Regions from separate parts of the Homo sapiens genome. Here region 2 is linked to region 1. The links are contacts of gene promoters, found by promoter capture Hi-C in human tissues and cell types (Jung and others, 2019). All regions are on one chromosome and are shown on one strand. Each heading gives the region's core, a stretch centred on a gene start or on the middle of the fragment in contact. The rest is flanking DNA. Distances are from core to core; before and after follow the strand shown.

Evidence for each region. The method cuts DNA at HindIII sites, captures the fragments that hold promoters and counts their contacts. A contact is called where the count stands out against the background at its distance.
Region 2: the fragment with the promoter of TCFL5 here is called in contact with the fragment with the promoter of EEF1A2 in region 1 in 1 of the 25 tissues and cell types used here (heart right ventricle).

The regions. Positions count from the first base shown.
Region 1 is chr20:63,497,320-63,503,434 of GRCh38, forward strand. EEF1A2 (eukaryotic translation elongation factor 1 alpha 2) reads right to left here and starts at 1,764. Exons shown (of 8, transcript NM_001958.5): 1 at 1,739-1,764; 2 at 301-515. The coding sequence starts at 444. LOC124904955 (a long non-coding RNA gene) reads left to right here and starts at 963. Exons shown (of 2, transcript XR_007067719.1): 1 at 963-1,304; 2 at 4,006-4,149. LOC105372725 (a long non-coding RNA gene) reads left to right here and starts at 4,739. Exons shown (of 3, transcript XR_937004.3): 1 at 4,739-5,135. RefSeq lists enhancers at 1-147, 773-1,568, 1,829-2,398, 4,495-5,000, 5,001-5,506. The HindIII fragment of the contact is 29,943 bases long and covers 1-6,115 here.
Region 2 is chr20:62,857,735-62,864,045 of GRCh38, forward strand. TCFL5 (transcription factor like 5) reads right to left here and starts at 4,088. Exons shown (of 6, transcript NM_006602.4): 1 at 3,290-4,088; 2 at 2,391-2,574; 3 at 1,630-1,792. The coding sequence starts at 3,936. It overlaps LOC105372717 (a long non-coding RNA gene), which reads left to right and starts at 3,701. Exons shown (of 4, transcript XR_936989.4): 1 at 3,701-3,807. RefSeq lists silencers at 3,507-3,656, 4,157-4,346, 4,397-4,496 and an enhancer at 3,881-4,535. The HindIII fragment of the contact is 8,054 bases long and covers 1,492-6,311 here.

The DNA of each region.
Region 1 (6,115 bases), core at 514-3,013:
CAGCCCCAGCTCAACATGGCAGAGTTCCAGAGCCTTCTGCAGACCCTCCCAGGTCACCTCCCTCACCACAGGGCAAGTCCGGCAGCTCGATGGCCACCCCTCCCCCACCAAGCTCCCCCTAAGAGAGAGGCTGCCCCACCAGACCCTCTGAGGCCTGAGTGCCCCACAGCGGGGGTCCCTCCTGCCCTGGAGGAGGTCACCTGAGCCCCATGCCCTGGGGCTGGGAGATGCCAAGCCTGGCCACCACGGGAGTTGGGGGTTCCTTCTCAGGGGGCCAAGACCATAGCCTGGGGAGCTCACCTCAGCCGCCTCCTTCTCGAACTTCTCAATGGTCCTTTTGTCAATACCTCCGCATTTGTAGATGAGGTGGCCCGTGGTGGTGGACTTTCCGGAGTCCACGTGGCCGATGACCACGATGTTGATGTGGGTCTTCTCCTTGCCCATTTTGCTGGGAGTGTGAGGGGCTGGCGGGACCCGGGGTGCTCTGGCTCAGGGCGAGGGGGGCTGCAGTGATTCTGTGGGGCCAGTGGTGGTGGGGAGACCGGTGATGGGGAGCCCCAGGGGGAGACACCAGCAGAGACTGTCCTGGCACAGGCTGGACAGGCATCCCTGCCCACAAACCAAGCCCCCATGTTTGGTGGGGAGGGAAGGGCCCCCACCCACAGCTGGGCCTGGCCAGGGCAAGCAGAGGCTGTGCACTGCCCCCACCCCACACTTGAGCCCAAACAGCCCCATCTGCTGTAAATAACTGGGCGTTGGAGCCCGCGGGCTGCTCCTTGGGAAGGGGTTAGCCACCATTTGGAGAGACCACGCAGCGCCAGGCTGGGTACGTCCGTGACCAGCAGAGCCGGGTGATGAGTCACCTGCCCAGCGCTCCAGGGCCCTGTCCTGCACGCGCACTCCCCTCCCCGGCGGCAGGGCCAGGGACACGGCGCCCCACCCCCACCCGCTGCCACCGGGGAGAGATGGCCACTGCTCCCCACTCCCCTCCTCAGGCAGGGACGGCGCCATCTTCCCCTCATCCCTGCCCGGCAGGCTGGGCCAGAGCCCCGACGGAGATGCGCTGCCCAGATTAGGAACCCAGAATAGCTCTAGGCACCCCCCTCCCGGACTCTCACAGGGACAGACAGCGGCCGGGAGGTGGGGGTCCCTGTTCCAGCCTGAGGAAGGAGGACCCGGCCCTGCCGAGCCCAGCAAGTGCCAGGTGGAGATGCCCTCGGCCCCGTGGGGGTATAGGGGGCACCCTCCCTCCCCCCCTCCCTGTGACTCAGGACCCTGGGTCACAGCCCTGTCCCATCACAGAGGTCAGTGGAGAAACCCACGCTGCTCCTCGCGGACAGGTGGCTGGGGGAGGGAAAGAGGACAGAAGCCACCCTGGGGTGGGAACACGGGTGGGGGTGGGGAGGCCAGGGCCCCCAGATCTCACCACCTCCCTCAGCGTCCTCTGGCCCAGCGCCCCGAAGCCCGACCCCCATCAGCCCCCGGCCCGCAGGGTCCCCGCGGCCCCAAGGTCACGGCTACGGGGCGATCGCCGCCCAGGACCCGGCCCCGCCGCCCCGCGCCGCCCCCCACCCCGGGCCCAGCCCGGCCGACGCGGGGACCCCCGGAAGCCGGACTCCGGGCGCGCGCGGGGGCGGGTGCGGGGCCCGGCCACCCTCTGCCCCCCAGGACCGGCCCCGGGGGTCCCTCTTCGGAAGACGGGGGCGGGGGCGGAGGCCCGGGGGCCGAGCGTCCTTACCCGGAGCCGAGGTCTCAGCCAGAGGGACTGGCGGCGCCGGCGCCGGCGGTTTTATCTCCGGGAGGGGGTCCACCTATTGACGGTGGCGGCGCAGTGCACCGCGCCCTGCAGCACGCCAATGCGGAACCGCGCGGGAGGGGGCGGGGCGCGGACGCGCGCGGGCGGGCGCCACGGGGACGCGAGGCGATGCGGGAGGCGCGGGCTGCAAAGACGGACGCGGGAGGCGGGGGAGAAACGCGCCGCGGGCGGGGGCGGGGCGGGGGGCAGGGCAGGGAGGCGGCGGGAGGGAGGGACCGGGACGGAGACGGCGCGGGGAGAGCGCGGCGGGCCCGGGAGACGGGGCGAGAGCCGGCTCAGGGCAGGAACACGCTTGAGCCGCGAAAAGCGGTCCCCGGGGACAGGGCAGACGCCGAGGACCGGAGCCGGCAGGCGGGGGAGGGGAGCAGGTGGGCTGCAGCCTGGGAGACGAGCCTGGGTCTACCGGCCCCTCCCCGGCCCTGCTCATGGGGGACGCCCCAGAACCAACGAAGCCCGGCTCTGAGGGGCTCTCCCTAATGAGGCCCGGGGGTGCAGGCCTCAGGGTGGAAATCTGCTGGTTTCCAGTCCCTGTCCTCACGTGCCTGCCCTCCTGGGCGCACCATGACAGGCCCCGAGGATCCAGCGCAGAACCACCCTCCCCCTGAGAGGCTGGTCTCCCACGGTGCAGGGAACGCCGGAAGCCCGCTCCCAGACCCACTGACATCTTCCAGGGACCCTCCCCTCCGGGTGCGCCGACCTCCGGCTGCTGCTGGGAAACAGCGCCAGCCAAGGGCGAGTCAGATCCAGACAGACCCAGGCCCCCCCGCCCAGCGCCCCACCCCGCTGCACCTCAGCGCCTTGTAGCTGATGCTCATATGGGGTCAGGATGCCAAGCCAAAGACCGGGCCACGCTCTGTAGGAAGTGGGGAGTCCCTGAGGTCCTGGCACACGCGGGTAATGACCAACGTGGGTTGTGAGGAAGGGGATGTGGCAGCCATGTGTTGTGTGAAGACCAAGGTTAGGGGCTTTCTCCAGACCCCAAGATCCTGTCGTCTCACCCAGGTATTCAGGTCTTCCCTCCCACGCTGCCCCCCCACCCCCACGCACTCGGATCTTCCTGCCAGCGGGGTCTCGGGAGGTGTGTGCTGAGTGGGGGCAGAGCCCTGGCACCTGTCCTCTCAGCCCTGAGTTCCCACTGGGTGTTGACATGGAGGCCCCGGGTCGGGCCCAGCAGCTGCGACTGGGCAAATCCATGGGGATCCCCAGCGACTGGACCCCTACCTGGCCTGCTGGCAGGTGTGAGGAGGAAGGAAAGGTGGGGGCCCAGGGTCGGGGCCAAACAGTTCTCCCCAGCCTGTGGAGAGGGCCTCTCAGGAGGACCCTGGTCTGTGGCTGCGTCTGCCCCATAGGAGTCCAGGGACTTGGGCTCCTGGGCCACAGGCAGGAGAGGAGGCAGGGAGGGCCTGCTAGGTGCCCCGGCACTTCCGAGTGCTGCCGATGCCGTCAAACAGGAGCCAGGAATAAAAATAACCGCCTGGCAAGAAAGCAAGGCCCGCCCCACCCCACCCAGCTGGTCTCTATATTTAACGCCTCCCCTGCAGCCTGAAGGTTAGGCAGGGATTTGGAAGTGGGCTTGCTGCAGGTGCTCGAGTGGCCCAGGCCGGGGTCCCGGGGATGCCCACCCCACTCCCCCAAGGGATCACCAGGACTCTGGGCTACCTTTTCCAGACACCCCTTCCCCCTCGGCTCCCGGCTCACCCATAGCAGTGCCAGGGGCTCACATGTGCCGTGGGGCCTTGCCACCCACAGGAGTGGCCCCTGAGAGTGGAATGTGGCAACCTCCCCAAAGCACCTGTGTGCTGACTCTGGGCAAGGGTGTCGGTGGCTGCTCCAAAGGGTCTCCCAGGCGCCAGGACACGTTTGGTCCACGGTGTGGCCCCTCGGGGTCCTGGGAGCCACCGACTCAGTTCCGCAGACACTTGGAACACACAGCTAACGGGGCTGCGGTCACAAGGCTAAACACTAACACACTGATGGTTCCGAGCCACCGCGGAGACTGAACAGGACTGAATGGCTACTAACTACGGAATGCTAACTGCTGAATAACGGCAGTGGCCTGACCACGTCCCCAAAGTGCACGAGTTGTAACTTAATCCCCAATGCAACAGTGTTGGGGGCTGGCGCTTTCGGGAAGGAGTCTGGGTCATAAAGGGTTTGCCCTTCCGAATGGATTTGTGCCCTATAAACAGGACTCATGGCAGTGGGTTCTCTCTTGCTCTTCCGCCTTCTCCCATGTGAGGACACAGCAAGAAGGCCCTACCAGATGGCAGCACCTTGATCCTGGACTTCCTGGCCTCCAGACTGAGAAATAAACTTCTGTTTACTTATAATAATTTATAAATTTATAAAGCAAACTTTATAAATGTTTAAATTTAAGTAATGTATAATTACCCAGTCTCAGGTATTCTGTCATAGCACAACAAGCAGGCAAAACACTTGTCAATGGCCGGGTAGCACCAAATGACTTCAAGTACCAAGCATCCTAATTAGTCACAGCCAAGTCGCCCAGCTGTGTGAGTTCACAGTGTGGGGGACGGGGGACAGGGGGCCGTGCACGTGCACAGTGTGCGGGGATGGGGGCTGCGGGGACAGAGGCTACAAGGTAGGCCCCACAAGGCTGGCTGGAGGACCTTGAGAACCTGTGAGGCAACTGGGCACAGAAAGGCCAAGATTCCTGTCCAAGGACACGCAGCAAGTAAGGGGGCCTGTGGCCTGTGCTTTCCCTGCCCTCCCCCAGGTCAGGACTTGGGCCCCTCTTCTTGCATCTGAGTCCCTGGTCACAGTGCCGTCCTCACCAACAACCTGGGGGGGGTGGGGGGAGGGGAAATGGCGAGTCAAGAGGGCACCAGCCAATCAGGGCTTCCCTGGGGGCAGGCCCCGCCCCTCCTCGACCCCTCCCAGAGCCCCCAGGCCCCGCCCCTCCTTGCCGCCTCCCAGAGCCCCCAGGACCCATCCCTGAGCTGTTTGGGGAGACACAGGCAACCCCTTCTTTGGCTGGCTAGGGTTTCACGAGCCTCGGGAAAGAAGATGCAGCTAAAATTAACCGCTATCAAGCTGTCAGCCCTGGAAATAAACCTGCCTCCCATTGGCTGCCGGTGACGTCACTGCTGGGTTAATAATAGCCGCCGAGTGCCTAACGAACCACCTGTGCATGGGGCACAGCCAGGCCATCACCCCGGGGCCACCGTCGCAGGCAGGTGGAGGCTGGCAGCCCAGAGGCAGACAGGGGCTTGGAGGCAGGGTGGGGAGCAAGGCCAAGGCCGCTCTCTGGCCCCCAGTGTCACAGGATGACCTCAGCCCTGGCCTGGCCCCAGAGCAGGTGTGGATTCATTTTCCGGTCACGGAGCATCTCGTCTGCTGGCCCACCTGGGCCCCCTGGACGGCCACCAGGACAAGGCCCACCCCCGCGGCCATGCCTTGGGGCTGGCTCCCAGGGGACTGAGCATGCCCTTGAGGCAGCGAATTAAACAGTCTCCATGGCAGCAGAGGAGCTCCTGCCTCTGGAGCCTCCCTTAGAGGAGCAGCTCATGTCCCCCCAGATCAGAGAAGCTGGGGCTGGGCTGGCAGCGGGCAAACATGCCTGCAGGTCAGGCCACAGACCAGGGCCAGCCACGGCCCCGACAGCCCACCCTCCAACCCGGTATCTGGGTGTGCCTGAGGCAGACCTGAGTCTACCAGGGAGGCCCAGGAGGGATGCAGCCCCTCCGCCAGGGGGAAGGGCGGCCTGGCCTGCCACCCCGACCTGCAGGCCCCAGCAGGGAGCGTTGCCATGGTGAGAGGCAGCAGCAGCAGGATGCCCTCCCTCCAGGCCCTGCTGCCCGGGAGCCCAGCACCCACCCTGGTGGGGAGCAGACAGCACGTGCTCCTGCCGCAAGCAGCACTTTCTGGGCTTCTGGGCTTCCAGCTGCAGTCCCCGCTAGCCCCTCCCGGCCCCTGGCCATTACAGCCCATTGCAGGCTGGGAGGCTAAACAGGAGGCCGGGGTCACCGACCAGGGTGGGGTCACCTCTTGGACCCAAGAAGGGCAGCCCCTGGTGCCAGCACAGGGGCGCTGTGCCCTCCAGTGCCCAGAGGCAGAGGGGAGAGCCTGGGTAGGGTCTGCAGACCATTGACCCTACAGCTGCCTCCTCTGGGCCCTGGAGGAAGAGGGGGCCATCAATTGTGTCTCATTCTGCAGCTGGTCCAGAGAGAATGGGGGGTCCAACGTCTGTGGTCAGGTCTGGAGAGAATGGGGGGTCCAGTGTCTGTGGTCAGGTCTGGAGAGAATGGGGGGTCCAGTGTCTGTGGTCAGGTCTGGAGA
Region 2 (6,311 bases), core at 2,838-5,337, 640 kb before region 1:
TTATTGGGTAAGCAGCACAGAGAACCGAAACACAAAGAGATGTACTAATGCAGTTTTTCAGCATCAGCAGGGACCATGAAGCCCAAGCCTATTTTATACAACGAAACTGAACAAGAATCAATCATCACACTAAATACGTTTTCCAAGTGCTATGCAACCAATATGACCTCATCCAAAGCCCCTCTTTTTAATTAACAGGTGTTATCTATGAATACAGAAAACAAGAAGTTGTTTACTTTTTCTAAAGGTCAGAATGGAAAAAAAAAAACAACAACAACAAACCACCTGGACATATTTCCTCCCAAAAATATTTTCTTTATATACAATTATTCTAAGAACAAGAAAAAAAAACAATTATTCTAATATGACAGTATTTTTACTGCAATGCTCAGAACAAAACTGCAGCAGCGTGTGTGTGTGCCCTCGCCGCAGAAGTGGCTCTCCTCCCCAAAGCAGGAAGAAGTAGCGTCCGAGCTTTTCTGCTGCGTGACAGGCTATGCCACGTGTGCGTCAGTGGAACTGTATCCATCAAAGGACCACAGGCACGTGACTGGCAGGCGTGCTCATGTGCACGCGTATGCCACACAAAGCACCCATTTCAGAAGGATGATGAAGCTTTCAGCAGGAGAGAGAGGAATTCGGTCGTTTTGGTGATATTTTATTCCTTAACCTGAGTAGTCGGCACAGAGGCTGCTTTAATACTCATCTTTGTATCTTACAAATGTGAACATATACTTTGGCATAAAATTTTATAGGGAGGAAAAGGAAGGACTGACATGGGAGAAGGCGGTAGCTCTTCCTCCCCATCTTGTCTTCACCAACTCTTGGAAAGCTAAGTGTAAGGAGTGTTCTTTTTTCGGGTCACTTCACAAATCAGTTTCCCAGGGAGGAAGGGGCTACGCAGGTGTTTCCCAGGGAGGAAGGGGCTATGCAGGTGTTTCCCAGGGAGGAAGGGGCTACGCAGGTGTTTCCCAGGGAGGAAGGGGCTACGCAGGTGTTTCCCAGGGAGGAAGGGGCTACGCAGGTGTTTCCCAGGGAGGAAGGGGCTACGCAGGTGTTTCCCAGGGAGGAAGGGGCTACGCAGGTGTTTCCCAGGGAGGAAGGGGCTACGCAGGTGTTTCCCAGGGAGGAAGGGACTATGCAGGTTAGCGCAGCAGTGCCTTCAGCAGTGACTTTATTTCCAAACTTTCCGAATCACCTTACAGCCTCTCCCTGGCAGCCCTAATAGGGTCCTCCTATTAGCAGCCACCTATCCAAAGGCTTTCGGCAGATGTTAGATGACTGCCTCACTCATCGAGTATAACATAAGGAAAATAAAAAACTATAAAGTACTTTCAGTAACTTGAAAATAACTGAAAATTTATGTAAGTCTATCACTTTACTGTTAAGAAAAAGCCCTCAAACGCAACGTTCTCACACCAAGATTAATTATGTTTGAGAATCAGAATAATGTTTAAAGCGAAAAGACAGGGAAGCGGGTGGACAGACCCCTGAGATACACAGACACCTCCAAGACTGTTTCACATGTGTACAAACCATCTGTCTCCCCTGCCCCCCAAGGCCAAAATGCCATCAGCCACAGGGCTCAGTCAGAAGAAAGCTCCCACTACCTGCTGCTTCATCGCTTACCTCCCACTTTAATCCAAACTTGCTCAGGCAAAACTTTGTTTCTACTACCTAACGTCTGTTTAGTGGATTCAATTTCTTGCTGATAACAGAAAGAAAATGCTCTAGGCAATCCAATATCCTGGTGCTTGGCAGCTTCAAGTACAGAACATGAGTTACTAGAACTCTGGAAAAAAATGAAGCAACAGGAATTTTATCAATATGTGGCTTACTCTCCTCTTTACTGCACAAATGAAATGCACTTAACAAACATCAAAACTACTAACACGTAATTTGAAGAACTTTAGTTGCACTGAAGATTTAAAAATATTCGCATACCACATAAACACTCAACTTTCACAGGTATTTTTTTGTTTTTGTTTTTTTGTTTTTTTTTTTGAGACAGGCTCTCACTCTGTCGCCCAGACTGGAGTGCAGGGTCGCGATGTCAGCCCACCACAACCTCCACCTCCCAGGCTCAAGCGATTCTCCCGCCTCAGCCTCCTGAGCAGCTGGGATTACAGGTGTCCGCCACTACCACCTGGTTAATTTTCGTACGGGGTTTCACCATGTTGGCCAGGCTAGTCTTGAACTCCTGAACTCAAATGACCCACCCACCTCGGCCTCCCAAAGTGCTGGGATTACAGGTGTCGGCCTTGGCGCCCGGCTTAAAAGGTTATTAAGCTCACTGAAGGGAAAAAAAAGTACTTGGGACCTAACCAAAATAAGTTAAAATTTACCCATTTAATACAAAAGAGCAAAGCTTCACAAATCATGTTCCCTACCTGTGTCTGTGAAAGATTAGAATTTCCACTAGTAGAGCAAGCATTTGTAGTAAACAGTGGGTATGTAAATTGCAAAGCAGTAGTTGTAGCCGCAGTTTTATTTTTCACTAATGCTGTACATTTGTTTTGTTGCTGAAGAGGAACATTCATTAGTTCAGATGGATGTCGAATGAGAGTTACCAAACTGCCAAGACAAAAGAAAGCCCAGAAGTGTCAGCAATACGTGGCAGACAAGCATCCACCATCCCACTCCCATGGCTCTGGCTAGTTTTTCCAGACAGCAACCCAACTCTCATCCTGGAAATCTCTACACAACAATTAGCAACTATCGCTGCTGTGGAAGTCCTCCTCTTCCTATGGAGGAAAAGCAAAACTGCGCCACCTCCCTGCTCTCATCACATCCTGACACCAATCTCACTTTTGCCATCCTCCAGTGTGACCACGATGGGCAACTACAGGCTGGGATGAGCAGAAAACTGCGGACGCAGCCCCTTCCACAGCCATCCCTGAGGGTCGCCAAGGGGGCGGCTGCAGGCTGGAGCCTCATTTTAGAGCTCAAAGCCTGCAAACCCCCGTCGGGCCTTCCTAGGCTTCCCTGACATCCAAGAGTGCCACCCGGAGCACATGGTTCCCAGGAATTCTGCGCGCTCGGCCCCACTCCAGGCGGGGCCACTGAGGGAGGGGGTGTTTAGTTTCTGGAAGTACCTGCTCCCCGGGGCCCGCACAGCGCACACAGCCTTTCGGGGCGGCCCCAGACCCGGTGAGGTCCGCGCCCTGTGCCGCCGGGAGGGCAGGCTGGGGGCGTGCACAGCGAGGGCCCCCTTTGCCTCCGCCCCGGCCCCGGCCCCGGCCTCGGCCTCCACCCGGGCCCCGCCAGCCCCCGGCCGCCGGGCACGCACTTGTTGAGCGCCCCGCCCGGCTCGGGGGGCTCGGGGCCGCGCGGCGCGGGCGGCGGCTCGGCGGGGATGCTGTTGAAGCGGTCCTCCAGGCGGACGCGCACGGCCGGCTTGGCCCGGGCCTCGGGCGCGCCGTCGGGTCCAGCCGCAGCCGCAGCCGCGCCCGCGCCCTCCTTGGCGGCGCCGTCGGCCCGGGCCCTCGCTCCGTCCCCGCCGCCCGACGTCTTCTCCGCCGCGCCCGCCTCGCTTAGCAGCATCATGCGCAGCTCCTGGAAGTCGATGTGGCCCAGGCAGGGCGCGTCGGCCGCCAGCGCGGACGGGCACAGCACGGGGTACACGGGCGCCGCGCCCCCCTGACCGCCCGCCGCGAAGCCGCCCGCGCCTGCGCCCGGGCCCGCCGCCGCCAGCAGCGCCGAGTTGAGGCGCGTCTCGAGCTCGCCGTCAGCCGCCGCCTCCATGTGCGAGCAGAGGATGTGCTGCAGCTGCGTGTACTCCACCTCCGTCATCTCCACCAGGCTCAGGTCGGTGGTCGTGAAGCTCAGCCCCGGCTCGCCCAGCGCCGCGTCCCCGCCGCCCGCGCCCTCGACGGCCGCCTCGCCGCCTGCCGCGCCTGCCTCCGGCGGCGGCTCCCGCGGTCCGGGGCCCGACATGGCGGCGCGGCGCGGCCCAACGGCGGCGAGGGCGACGCGGGCGGCGGGCGGCGGGAGGCGGGAGGCGGGAGGCGGGAGGCGACCCCCGGCCCGAGCACTACTCTGCGCCGGCCACAGCCGGCGCGCCGTTGGGGGAGGGAAAACCGCTGAGTGCCGCGCACAGCGCCTGCGCCGCCCCGCCCCGCAACGGCAACCCCACCCCTGCGCCAGCCCCGCCCCCTCCGTTACCCGCCGCCGCCGGCCCCGCCCCCGCCCAACCGCCCGCACGCCCGGCCCCGCCCCACGTCGGCGGATGCTTGCGCGGAGGGCCCGCCCCCACGGCCCAGCCACGCCCCCACAGCTAGGCCACGCCCCCAGCTCAGGCCACGCCCGGTTCCCAGCCACGCCCCTGCTGCCCGGCCACTCCCCGCTGAGGCCCGGCGAGGGCGGCTGCGCTGGAATCAGCGTGATACCTACGCGGTGACACCCTGGGGAGAAGCCACGTCCGTGCGTGCACGTGCGCCCCATTACAGCGGCAGGAATGAAGACGTTGTCAAAACAGCTCCCTGGACCCACAGTCCACAGTGCCCAGGCCATCCGCTTCATCCGCGTAAAATGCGCAGCGCATGGCCGGGTTCTGTGGCTCATGCCTGTAATCCCAGTACTTTGGGAGGCCGAGGCAGGTGGATCAGGAGGTCAGGAGATCGAGACCAGCCTGGCCAACATGGTGAAACCCCGTCTCTACTAAAAATACAAAAATTAGCTGGACGTGGTAGTGCGTGCCTGTAATCCCAGCTACTCGGGAGGCTGAGGCAGGAGAATCGCTTGAACCCGGGAGGCGGAGGTTGCAGTGAGTCGAGATCTTGCCACTGCACTCCAGCCTGGGCAACAGAGCCAGACTTCATCTCAAAAAAAAAAAAAAAATGCACAGCGCGACGGTGGTGGTACATTCCCAGCGCTGGGCCCGCCTCCACCGCTGCATTCACCACCGGTCTCCTGTAGCAGTCAGCACACTGCCCCTCCCCCGCCTGCAGCCACTAATCTTCTGTGTCCAGGAGTTTGCCTAGGCTGGGCCTTCCCTGTTAAGGGAACTATGCAATATGTGGTCTTTAAGAGACTTATTTTTGCAATCTTGAAATAATTCCTGTACTTAACCTCTCACCCACATTCCCATCTCACTCAGTGGTTGTCTGTTCTCTGTCTAGGCATTAGGACACTTAAAGGCCTGTGACTTGCACATCGTCTTCTAAGCCGGGTCTGAATCTTTCGCTCATTTCATCACAGTTTAGACACAGACCAATATATTACAATGATTCAACGATGGGCTATGAAAGCTCAGCCATGCAAATCTAAACTCACACATGTATACATGAAAATAATATATCAGTTTTGGGCAAAACATCAGGTTTCAGAAAACACTACCAAGGAGGAAAGCAAGGACTTAAAACTCTCAAGGACATGGCAACAGAAGTCGTCTAACGTAAAACAGAGAGGGAAGGCTAAGAGAGTGAGCAGAGCATCAGTGAGCTGTGGGGCCGCTTCAAGCAGTGTGATTTGAAGTCCCCTGGGGGTGGAAGGATGGGGAGAAAGACATTTTAAGAAGTAATGATTGCCAGGTGAGGTGGCTCACGCCTGTAATCCCAGCACTTTGGGAGGCCGAGGCGGGCAGATCCCTTGAGGTCAGGAGTTCGAGATCAGCTTGGCCAACATGATGAAATCTCGTGTCTACTAAAAATATAAAAAATTAGCCAGGTGTGGTGGCATGTGCCTGTAATCCCAGCTACTCAGGAAGCTGAGGCAGAAGAATCGCTGGAACCCGGGAGGTGGAGGTTTCAGTGAGTAGAGATTGCACCACTGCACTCCAGCCTGGGAGACAGAGCAAGACGCTGTCTCAAAAAACAAAAACAAAACAACAAAAAAAAATAATGATTGAAAAGTTTTTTTAAAACTACAAACCTACAGACCCAAGAAGTTTAACATACCTCAAACTCAAGAAACATGAAGGAAACTACACCAAGATGGAAAGCAAATTGCTTTATTTATTTATTTTTTTATTTTTTGAGATGGAGTCTTGCTCTGTCTCCCAGGCTGGAGTGCAATGGCACGATCTTGACTCAGCACAACCTCTGCCTCCTGGATTCAAGTGATTCTCCTGCCTCAGCCTCCTGAATAGCTGGGATTATAGGCATGTGCCACCATGCCTGGCCAATTTTTTGTATTTTTAGTAGAGACGGGATTTTGCCATGTTGGTCAGGCTGGTCTTGAACTCCTGACTTCAGGTGATCTGCCCACCTTGGTCTCCCGAATGCTGGGATTACAGGCATAAGCCACCGTGCCTGGCCTCAAATTGCTTTAAATCAGTGAAAAATCTTAAAAGCAGCTGTACACACACACAC